Linked DNA regions of Homo sapiens: regions 1, 2 and 4 are each linked to region 3. Evidence: promoter capture Hi-C in human tissues and cell types (Jung and others, 2019). All regions are on one chromosome and are shown on one strand. Each heading gives the region's core, a stretch centred on a gene start or on the middle of the fragment in contact. The rest is flanking DNA. Distances are from core to core; before and after follow the strand shown. Region 1 overlaps TNRC6C (trinucleotide repeat containing adaptor 6C). Region 2 overlaps TNRC6C (trinucleotide repeat containing adaptor 6C). Region 3 holds the start of TMEM235 (transmembrane protein 235). Region 4 overlaps PGS1 (phosphatidylglycerophosphate synthase 1).

What was found. The method cuts DNA at HindIII sites, captures the fragments that hold promoters and counts their contacts. A contact is called where the count stands out against the background at its distance.
Region 1: a contact is called between a fragment that was not itself captured here and the fragment with the promoter of TMEM235 in region 3, in 1 of the 25 tissues and cell types used here (IMR-90 fibroblasts).
Region 2: a contact is called between a fragment that was not itself captured here and the fragment with the promoter of TMEM235 in region 3, in 2 of the 25 tissues and cell types used here (dorsolateral prefrontal cortex and spleen).
Region 4: a fragment that was not itself captured here is called in contact with the fragment with the promoter of TMEM235 in region 3 in 2 of the 25 tissues and cell types used here (bladder and dorsolateral prefrontal cortex).

Annotation. Positions count from the first base shown.
Region 1 is chr17:78,069,089-78,071,788 of GRCh38, forward strand. It overlaps TNRC6C (trinucleotide repeat containing adaptor 6C), which reads left to right. Exons shown (of 23, transcript NM_001142640.2): 8 at 1,997-2,077. Among named protein-coding and RNA genes, the nearest start is that of TMC6, 58 kb to the right of the region's middle. The HindIII fragment of the contact is 3,903 bases long and covers 1-2,700 here.
Region 2 is chr17:78,022,498-78,025,197 of GRCh38, forward strand. The region is part of intron 3 of TNRC6C (trinucleotide repeat containing adaptor 6C); the gene reads left to right. Among named protein-coding and RNA genes, the nearest start is that of TNRC6C, 65 kb to the left of the region's middle. The HindIII fragment of the contact is 6,361 bases long and covers 1-2,700 here.
Region 3 is chr17:78,230,348-78,233,047 of GRCh38, forward strand. TMEM235 (transmembrane protein 235) reads left to right here and starts at 1,284. Exons shown (of 5, transcript NM_001395503.1): 1 at 1,284-1,866. The coding sequence starts at 1,677. The HindIII fragment of the contact is 13,022 bases long and covers 1-2,700 here.
Region 4 is chr17:78,420,083-78,422,782 of GRCh38, forward strand. All of the region lies in intron 9 of PGS1 (phosphatidylglycerophosphate synthase 1), which reads left to right. Among named protein-coding and RNA genes, the nearest start is that of PGS1, 43 kb to the left of the region's middle. RefSeq lists enhancers at 1-194, 2,468-2,700. The HindIII fragment of the contact is 3,716 bases long and covers 1-2,700 here.

The DNA of each region.
Region 1 (2,700 bases), core at 100-2,599, 160 kb before region 3:
ACATGACAGAAAATACCATAATCAAAGTCAAAAGAAAAATAGCAAACTGGAAAAATATGTTTATAACTCATATCATAGAGAGGGCCAATCCCCTGATACATAAAGTCCTAGAAACTGATTTAAAAAAAAAATCAGCCAGAAACCCAGTAGAAAAAGGAGCACAGAATGTGAAGAGTAGCTGGTCCACAGAGAAGGAGCACCAGTGGCTCCTAGACACGGACTCACAGGAAGGCAGTGCAGTTCCAGACAGCACTCAGAGACACCTGCCATTTTTCATCTCTCAGACCCACAGAAAGCCAGCGTTTTGATTTTTTTATTTAAAAAAATTTTTTTAGAGACAGAGTCTTGCTGTGTCACCTTAGGGGCTGGAGTACAACCTTGAACTCCTGGGCTCGAATTGTCCTCCTGCCTCAGCCTCCTGAGTAGCTGGGTCTACAGGTGCATGCCACTCTGCCCAACTAATTTTATTTTTTATTTTTTCTGTAGAGACAGAGTCTCACTTTGTGGCATTTATACAGTTTTGTATTGCAGCATTTTTGTAGTAAAAAGATAACAATAATTTATGTGTACATTGATGGAGTAACAAGTTAATTATGTCACTTCTACATTATACAGAACTAAAAGGAAATTCTATCTATGTATTGATATGAAAAGATCACTAAAGTACATTGTTAAATTAAAAGCAAGGTGCAGAAAAACATGTACAGCACACACCCTATTTTGTGGGGTAGGAGGAAGAAAACGTGTGTGTGTGTATGTGAGTGTGTGTATGCATGCATGCACACGTAGTGTATCAGCTTCTACAGAATGTTCTAAATTCTCTGGAAGGGCAAATAAGAAACTGCTATGAGTAGTGCCTCTTCGAGAGAACAGGAACTAAGCAAATGGGGTGGCATGAGATGAAAACTTTCTTTATACCTTGTTTATACTTTTGAATCGTGTGAATGTATTCATGTTCAAAAAAATATAGTTTATAAAAGCATTCAGTTAATAATCAGCAGAAACCAGAAACTAAAATCAGAGCTCTCCGCTCATGAGGAGTAGAAGTGATTACAGACATCAAAAAGAATCCTTTTTACAGTTGGGCTGGCAAATAATCCAGTTAATGATGGGACCAAAAATAGCAAATTGGTAAATTAAAATCTTGACTAATCTGGCTCTGGCAGCATAGTAATGATTGAAATAGCCCCAAAATAAGCTAGTTCCTTGAGGAAAGAAAGCCTGTTTATAGAGCTCCATATGCTCCATGATATAGCTGTGGCAGGCTCAATTGTGAAAAACACTATGAAGAATATTTTTGGAAGGGAATTTTTTTCATATTGTAATAATGCATCATTAGAACCTTTGCATTTATAGGCTCAGAGGGAAGTTATTGAGAAGCCTCCTGGCTCTTCTGTGGTGCCGAGCCCTCCCCCACCCCCACTGCTCTTTCTGTAGCTGACCTTTTTCCTCATCCTCTCCTTCACTGACATTTTCCTCCTTATTCCTTTTCTCTACCCTATGAGCTATAAGTAACAAATAGTTAATAAAATTAACAGGTTGTTTCATCCTTTCTTCTTGCTGCCTCTTTACTCATTGGAATAAACCCCCTCATTTTATCATTTTTCAGAATAAAGCTTAGAAAAGGCAAAAAGTGTAATTTTTAGTAAACTTCACATAGGGCTGTGTTCAAGGGAGCGCTTAGGATTATTGGATAGTAAAAGTAGTCTATATTTGTGATAAACTAAATTAATTATCTGGGAAAGAGAAATAATTATCTTGCTTTAAGTTCATAAATTGCACATATATACCAACCTGCAAATGTACCTTGATGCTTTCCGTAGCAGTAGCCACGAAATACTGTTAGGGAGTTTCTGGAATACAGCATTATTCAATGTTAATACAAAAAGATCCTGTGACTTTTAAATGACCCTGAATTTAGGCTGTCTCCCATTTCTGGTAGAAATGCATTAAAATGTAGCTCATGGACTTCCCCCTTTCCCACACTTTGTTCAAGGGCATGAAGACGTCTGGCAAGCAGGATGAGGCCTGGATCATGAGCCGGCTGATCAAACAACTCACAGACATGGGCTTCCCGGTAACTGGCGTCGTAGTTTACTGCTACCCACCATGCTTCCCAAAATGAAATGCCCTCATTGTTTCCTCTCCATGTTTGTTATGTGTGTCAGAAGACACCAAGATTGTTTGAGGAATGAGATATTGACATCATCTAACTCTTAAATCTCCCTTTTACCTGGGTAGTTTGGGTTAGAGATCATTGCTTTGAACTACAGCAAAGACCCACACAATTTCTATCAAAAAGGGTGTGAGAGCCTTTTCCTAGAATAGAAAATGCTTTTTTTTTTTGGAGACAGGGTCTTGCTCTGGCACCTAGGCTGCAGTGCAGTGGTGTGATCAAGCAGTCCTCCTGTCTCGGCCTCCCGAGTAGAGCTGGGACTACAGGCGTGAGCCACCATGCTCGGCTAATTTTTGTATTTTTGGTAGAGACGAGGCTTCACTGTGTTGGCCAGGCTGGTCTCGAACACCTGGGCTCAAGCGATCTGCCCGCCTCGGCCTCCCAAAGTGCTGGGATTACAGGCATGAGTCACTACGCCCAGCCGGAAAATGCTGTGTGATTTTTAATTTTCATTGGTTTATACAGTTTTATGTTTACTTTTAATTTATAATTAAACGTGAATTTCATTAGTGTATAGAGTATAT
Region 2 (2,700 bases), core at 118-2,617, 210 kb before region 3:
AAGATTAACAGCAGCATGGTGGAAAAGCATGGTCAGAGATGTGAGTTCTAGTCCCAGTGGTAGCTGGGTCAGTCATCTCAGCCATATCATCTCGGTTGCCTGAGTCTGTGCAGATGAGGGTGGGACTGGATGATTTCTAAGGTTCCTGTCAGCTCAAATTCTTTGCTTCTGAGTCCTTGCCTAATTGTTTCCATCAGGTTTTGAGTTCTGGTGCATTTTCTTCATTTCGAGTCTTTTAAAAGGCAAAATGACAAGTAGAAGTACAAGTGTAGTTGGCACTCCTTATCTGTGGCTTCTGCATCCATGGATTTAACTAACTGTCAATCAAAAATATTTGAAATATAAATGGACAGTTGCATCTGTACTGATGCAGTGCATGTACTGTACATGTGCAGACCTTTTTTTCTTATTATTCCATAAACAATACAGTATAACAGCTATTTATATAGCATGTAAATTACATTAGGTATTATAAGTAATCTAGAGATTATTTAAATATATAGGAGAGCTGGGCATGGTGGTATGCACCTATTGTCCCAGCTATTTGGGAGGCTGAGGTGGGAGGAACACTTAAGCTCAGGAATTCAAGTCCAGCCCACCCTGGGCAACACAGTGAGACTCCGTCTCTAAAAAAAAAATTAAAAATTAACAACATAACGTATGCGGGAGGATATGCGTAGGTTATACGCAAATAATAACCTGTTTTATAACAGGGACTTGAGCATCTGTGGATTTTGGCATCCAAGGGGGTTTCTGGAACCAGTCCCTCTTGGATACTGAAGGATGACTGTACTTTGACTTTTATAGTAGCTAGCCATCCAGTGTCAGTTATTTACAAAAGAGAAACTGGGTTTTTCATCACAAAAATTTCTGTAGCTTGCTAATAGTTCTCTTTTTTTATTCCTTCCTTCTCCTGCTCCTCCTCCTCCTCCTCTTCTGCTGCTACTGCTTTTGAATTTTGTAGTAAAAGAACCAATATTCCTAGCTTCCCAAGAAGCACTTGTTGAGTCTAGAATAAAACTTTTGAGCTGGGCACAGTGGCTCATGCCTGTAATCCCAGCACTTGAGAGGCTGAGGTGGATAGACTGCTTGAGTCCAGGGGTTCAAGACCAGCCTGGGAAACATGTCAAAAACCCATCTCTACTAAAGATACAAAAAATTAGCTGGGCATGGTGATACACATCTGTCGTCCTAGCCACTTGGGAGGCTGAGGTGGGAGGATCACCTGAGCCCGGAAAGCCAAGGCTACAGTGAGCTGTGATCATGCCACTACACTTCAGCTTGGGCAACGGAAGTGAGACCCTGTCTCAAAAAACAAACAAAAAAGCCTGGCCGGGCACTGTGGCTCATGCCTGTAATCCCAGCACTTTGAAAGGCCAGGGTGGGTGGATCACCTATGGTCAGAAGTTCAAGACCAGCCTGGCCGACATGGTGAAACCCCATCTCTACTAAAAATACAAAAATTAGCCAGGCATGGTGGCGGGCACCTGTAATCCCAGCTACTTGGGAGGCTGAGGCAGGAGAATCACTTGAACCCAGGAGGCAGAGATTGTGCCATTGCACTCCAGCCTGAGCATCAAGAGCAAAAAAAACACCGTCTCAAAAAAAAGCAAAAACAAAAAAACCTTTTGAGGCAGATACATTAAAGTGTGTGAAAAAATAATTGTTAGTATGCTAATTGTAATTTTAAAACACATTGAGTGGTTCTAAGTTTACCAGACAAGTGTCTATGTATTGTGCTCTCAGTTTTATTTGGAAAGTTTGCTATTGTGAAAGAGACAGCAAGTTTTCTTCTCTGTTGTGGGTTGTATTTCCATTTTTTATTAATAGGCTGTATTATTTAGAGCAGTTTTTTTTGGTTTTTTTGTTTGTTTGTTTGTTTTTTTGGAGATGGAGTCTCTCTCTGTCTCCCAGGCTGGAGTGCAGTGGCCCGATCTTGGCTCACTGCAAGCTTCGCCTCCCAGGTTCACGCCATTCTCCTGCCTCAGTCCCCCAAGTAGCTGGGACTACAGGTACCTGCCACCACGCCCGGCTAATTTTTTGTATTTTAGTAGAGACGGGGTTTCACCATGTTAGCCAGGATGGTCTCAATCTCCTGACCTTGTGATCTGCCCACTTTGGCCTCCCAAAGTGCTGGGATTACAGGCGTGAGCCACCGCGCCTGGCCTATTTAGAGCAGTTTTAAGTTTACAAAACAATCGAGCTGAAAGTATAAAGTTCCCATGTATTCCCTCTCCTCACCACCACTAGTTTCCCATATTTGTGTGGAACATTTGATACAACTGATGTTCTAGTATTGATACTTTTTTTTTTTTAGGACAGAGTCTTGCTCTGTTGCCCAGGCTGGAGTGCAATGGTGCGATCTCAGCTCACTGCAGCCTCTGCCTCCAGGTTCAAGCAACTCTCCTGCCTCAGCCTCCCGAGTAGCTGGGATTACAGGTGTGCGCCATGACGCCCAGCTAATTTTTGTATTTTTAATAGAGACGGGGTTTCACCATGTTAGCCAGTGTGATCTCAAACTCCTGACAGGTGATCCACCCACCGCAGCCTCCCGAAGTGCTGGGATTACAGGCATGAGTCACCGCGCCCGGCCAATACATTATTATTAACTAAATGCCACAGTTTACATTAGGGTTCACTCTTTGTGTTATATATCTATGGGTTTTGACATGCACAGTATTGTGTATCTGTCATAGCAGT
Region 3 (2,700 bases), core at 34-2,533:
GCCTGGGCAACATAGGGAGACCTTGTCTCTAAAAAAATAAATAGAGTGAGAGAGAGAAGGGGAAGTCACCGGGAGGACACACATGGAGCACGCAGCCCAAATGGGGCTCCTCTGTTCTCCCTGCAGAGTCAGTTCGTACCTTTCACATGCACAAAGGTGTTGATCCAACCGAAGCAATATTGATTCTTGTTATATTGCTTTATTGTGGGGTCAGTGTCAGAGTACCACGAGTTTTCATCACGCACCGTTCTTTCCCCAGCTGCAGTGTGTTTAGGGGGGGAACGAGGCCCCACCCCCTATCCCTATCGCCTCTGCCTTTATAACGGCTGCTACTCTCTGAGCACCTGTTGAGTTCTTTCACCTTCCAGATCTAATGTGCTATCCCCACCCCTAGAGAACAGGGCTGCTGGATGCCACATGGCTCCCAGAGAGGGGCTGTGGTCAGGGAAGCCCCAGCTCCAAGGGGGCTGGAAAACCCCAGAGCTGCCCACGTGCGGCAACACAGTCTGGTGCTGCAGGTGTGAGGACGGCTACAAAATACCTGAGCCATTCTGTCACTCTGTCTGAACTCTGTTTGAAATATTGTTTCAATAACTGCTAGGCTGGTTTTTCCTTCCTGACTATATTCCTCAAACCAACAAGAGCCTAGCAGAGGAAAGCATGGCCAAAACGCCCCAAGAAGAGAGCCTTGGCTTCACCTCCAAGGGCCACCATCCGGGAGGATGTCCTCAGACCTCTGATCCCCTCTCTGCAGGCTCTGCCCAGCCCTGTGTGGCAACCCAGAGGAAGCCTCCCCTTCGTTTGAGATTTAACCCCAGACCTTAGGCGATGGCTGCCCAGCCTGTCCCTTCCGCCTGTGTGGCTGCCCACGCGGGCGTTGCTCATGGGGCTAGTCCTGGGTGGATGGGTGGGGGCCTCTCGCCGGCTCCTCTGCCTCCCACCCCCACTGGCACCCCACGCCTGTCCTAGAAGGTTCTTTCTGCCTGTTTTCTCCGTGAGTGACTGGACAGGCAGAGGCCGGCCTTGCTGGAGGGGGCATTTGTAATTATGAGTGAATCCAAAACAAGGTTTTTTCCTTCCGCAGCCCCCCGCCCGGCTGTGGGGCCCAGCCACTGCACTTCACCGGATGCCGTCTGGTTGGTCCTCAGGACTGATACAGACCAGGACCCCAGGGCCAGCCCGTGCCAGGCTCCTATGCTTCCAGGAGCACGGGTGGGTGGTCCTGCTGCCTGGCCGGCCATCCTCCTGGGGTCGGTCTCTGGCCGATCCTCCCTCCTCCTCTCAAGCCCTGCACAGCCCGGCCAGGCAGGTGCATCTTGTTTGGCTGCTGAGGAGCCGGGGGTTCAGGGAAATTAAGGAACGTGCCCAGGGACCCGGGGCCAGCCCGTGGGGACGCTGGGATTGGAGCCCAAGCCCCAGGTTCGCCGCGCGGCTCTCGACTTCCTCTCCTTTCCCCCAGGGGCGAGCTCAGCGACCGCAGAGAGGTGGGGTCGATCTCCCTGCGACCCCAGGGGGCCCGCGAGGCCAGTGCGCGGGCAGGAGCGGGGACGTGCTCAGAAGAGCCGGGCGCCGCCGCGCCCGCCCGCCCCCCGTCCCCCGGCTCCCGGCTCCGCGCGCCCCCCGCCGCCCCCGGGGCCCTGCTACCCCCGACCCGTCCCCTCCCGCCGGCCGCCCCCATGGCCCGGCTGGGCGCGCTGCTCCTGGCCGCCGCCCTGGGTGCACTGCTCAGCTTCGCGCTCCTGGCCGCCGCGGTCGCCAGCGACTACTGGTACATCCTGGAGGTGGCGGACGCCGGCAATGGCAGCGCCTGGCCCGGGCGCGCAGAGCTGCTCTCCTCGCACTCGGGGCTCTGGCGCATCTGCGAAGGTAACCGGCCACCGCGCCGGCCCTCCTCCCTCCGCGACCTCGTCCCTCCGACACCCCCTTAACCCCGCCCTGCTCGTGTTGCCCCGCCAGACCCCCTTCCAGGACCCCTCTCTTGCATCCCGCTCTGCCCCAGGGTGTCTCTCCGCTCCCTCCCCATCACCCTCCGTCTTCCCCCAAAACTGACAGCCCAAGGGCTACAGGAGGGAGGGAGCCCAGTTCGGGGCCCCTCACAGCCGGAGGAGGGGGCTGTGGGGCGACAGTGGGGGAGGGAAGCCTAGAGGTGTGTAGTTGGGGGGCCTCATCCAAGTCACCAGGGGTTGTTTCTTGATCACGCTCCCCGGGGTTTGGGCCTGGCAGCCCCTTGTCCCCGTCCCTGTCAGGCACTGTCAGAGCTGTTCACCCCACACCTCCTGATGCCGCGGGGGCAGGGGTTCCAAATGTGTACAGAGGCTTCAGAGTCCGGGGAGAGAGAAGGGGATCCCAGCAGGCTGGAGGGTCCACAGGGCCCCCTCCGTTCCCCCCAGCTCCCTCCTCCGGAGCTGGGGCCAGCCTGGGGAGCTTCCCCTTCACAGCGCGAGGGCTGGCAGGGCAGGGGTGTGTGTGTGAGTGAGCATGTGTGTGCATCTGAATATGTGTGCATGTGCTGAACATGAACATGTGTGAGCACCTGGCTGTGTATGTAAATATGAATATGTGAGTGTGAGTGTATGTAGTTGTGTGTGCATGTGAATATGAGTGTGTGAGCATGTCAGTGTGCATGTGTGTGCATGTGAGAGTGTGTGGGCATGTATATGAGTGAGTGCATGTGTGGGTGGTGCACATGTGCTGGTGGCT
Region 4 (2,700 bases), core at 108-2,607, 190 kb after region 3:
ACGTTTGCTCGTGAGAGTGGCTCTGGCTTGCTGCCCTGGCCGGCTGTAGTGCACAGGGTGGGGCGTCGGTAGAGCCAGACCGTGGGCTGCTGCCTGGACGCCTCGCTGACATCCCTGTGCTGCGGTTACAGAGCTGCGCCCTTCTAGACTCTGGAAGTTGAGTAACAGGACCTGCTCTGCCCACCCAGGAGGGGCCTGCCGCTTCACCAGAGGCACCAGTGGGGTCCCACAGTCACCTGAGGTACCCCTGGACTGTCTTGACGCCTAGAGGTCCGGGCAGGGGGTGGCTGCCATTAAAGGTGGGGTCTTTGCTGAGTGACCTTTTGTGTCCTGGATCCCTCAGGGCCTGGACTGCACTCCGGGTGGGGTCAGGCTCCCGAGGCCCCTGCTCTCTGGTTCTGGATGTTGTGGGTAGTTCTGTTGCTTTGGATGGCTGGGCCTTTGGATGGTGGCTTGTGGGGAAGGGACGGTGAGGAGTCAAAGATGAGCCAGGACCCATGTGGCCGGCACATGCGCTAGTGCCGGCATCTCATGTGTGCAGCGTGGGCTCCCTTAGTGCCTGGCACCTTAGTGCTCTGCTAAGTCTCATTGTTTAAAAATGTGTAGTTTATCTGCAGCTTTTCCTAGTTATTTTAATTACTTTTCATTTTATTTGAATAGTGTGTGCAAATGTAGAGAGTAAAACAATACTGCGGCCATTTCCTGCCCTCCCTTCCCCCAGGCAGCCACTCTTGGCTTGTTTCTTCTGATGTGCACACGTGTCCGTATTTCTAAATAACGTGCATATCCTGCTGTCTTCCCCCAAAATGTGTACTTAACCAAAACAGCACCAGTGTCACTCCTGAAACAAAAATTACCAAGAATGTCTTAGTATCATCAAATACCTAAATGGTGTTCACAATTCCACTTGCCTTAAAATTAATTTTTTCGATTATTTGACTTGAAGTCCAATTAAGGACTACACCTTGTGATTGTTTTTTCCCTAGCAATTTATTTTTTGAAGAATGAACTTTATTTTTATTGGATCTACTTAAAACATTTTTGTGTCACCTAGTAGCAGGGGATTTTGAATACATGTCATGTGTGTTTATAAAGCCAGCTCTCCATATCCCCCAGTGTCTCCAGGAGCTGCTTTTGTGACCTCACTGCCTGATCTCTTTATCATCTTCAGGTGCTTGACCCTTGCACAGAGAGAAGCTTCCTGGGCTACAGGGCATGGCAGCCTGTCCTTTCGGGGAGTGAGATTAGATTTAGTCCCTGCACTTTGCCTCTCTAGAAGCAGCTTCTCGCCTTTCCCTCCCGAGGGCTGGCAGGAGTCACTGTCACCCTTCATGGGGTCTGAAAGGTTGCATAGGCTCACCTGGTCTTAGACAAGGACAGTTGCAGCTTCCGCACCAGGCAGACCTGCAGTTTGAGTGGCTGGGGATAGGTGGAGCGGCGGCCTGGCCACAGTGCCCTGGACAGCAGCACATCACATCAGTTAACACTGTTTGCCTTCCAACTAGTTATTACGGTGTCCTGTGGGACAATTAGACTGGAGGAGCCAAAGGAATGTGCAGGGGCACTGGGTTTCTGTTTGGAGAGAGGCTCTCGGTAAACAGAGTTCGCATTCCTCCAGATTCTGTGGGACCAGAGTAAATATCATTATGCCACAGCCAGGCTTAAGCAATCTATCTGCAGTGCCGTTCCCGCAGCGCACACTGCTCCCTCTGTCTCTGCTGATGACCTTCGAGGCTGTCCTAGGCAGGTTCTCCCTGAGGAGCTCCCCACACCAAGCCTCCCTAACTCTGCAAAGCAGCCGGAGCAACAGAGAGCAGCGGGCGGCGGGCGGCGGCCGCCGCAGTCCTCCCGGCTTTCTAGGTGCGCGGGGCTGTCGTGTTCCAGTCCCTGTGTTCCCCGTCGCTGGAGTGCAGCTTAAGTGCGAATCATTTCTTGGAAAGTTTAGAGATAATTTTGTCAACTACCCACAATATGTATGTGTGGACTAGATTACTTTCTTATTTCAGGATCTAAAGGCAAAATGGAAAAACGTCACATTTTGTGGTTATTACCAGGGACTGAAGTGAGTTGCCCGGTGGCCCCTGGTGGCTTTAGCTCCCCTGGTCACCTGAAGGGCTGCAGTGACCCCTCCTGGCCAGCAGAGGTATTGGCCCAGCCAGGCTGGGGGAGGCTGAAACTGCTTCCCTTCTCTGCAGCCACAAAGGGCTGGATTCCTTGGGCGCCAGGAGGGGAGGATTTTTCTTTTCCCTCCGATAGCCCTACTGGGCGCTAAGATTGTTGTGAATCATTACCCTCAGAATTTGGACTTTCTAGATGCTTCTTAACCCATGATTTAGGTGAGTAAACTTGGAAAAATGTTTTTGCAAAACTTGATGATCAAGCTGAACGTAGAACGATATTCCTAATGGGTGTGTTTGCCTTTTTTCCCCCTTTTGAGACAGGGTCTCACTCTGTCACCCAGGCTGGAGTGAGTGGCATGATCATGCCTCGCTGCGTACTTGACCTCATGGGCTCAAGCGACCCTCCTGCCTCAGCCTCCTGAGTAGCTGGGACCACAGGCACATACAACATTCCCAGCTAATTTTTTGTATTTTTGATTGATAGAGATGGTTTTGCCACGTTGCCCAGGCTGGTCTTAAACTCCTGGGCTCAAGTAAGATTGCCGTCCTGGGATTAGAGGCGTGAGCTGCTGCAGCGGCC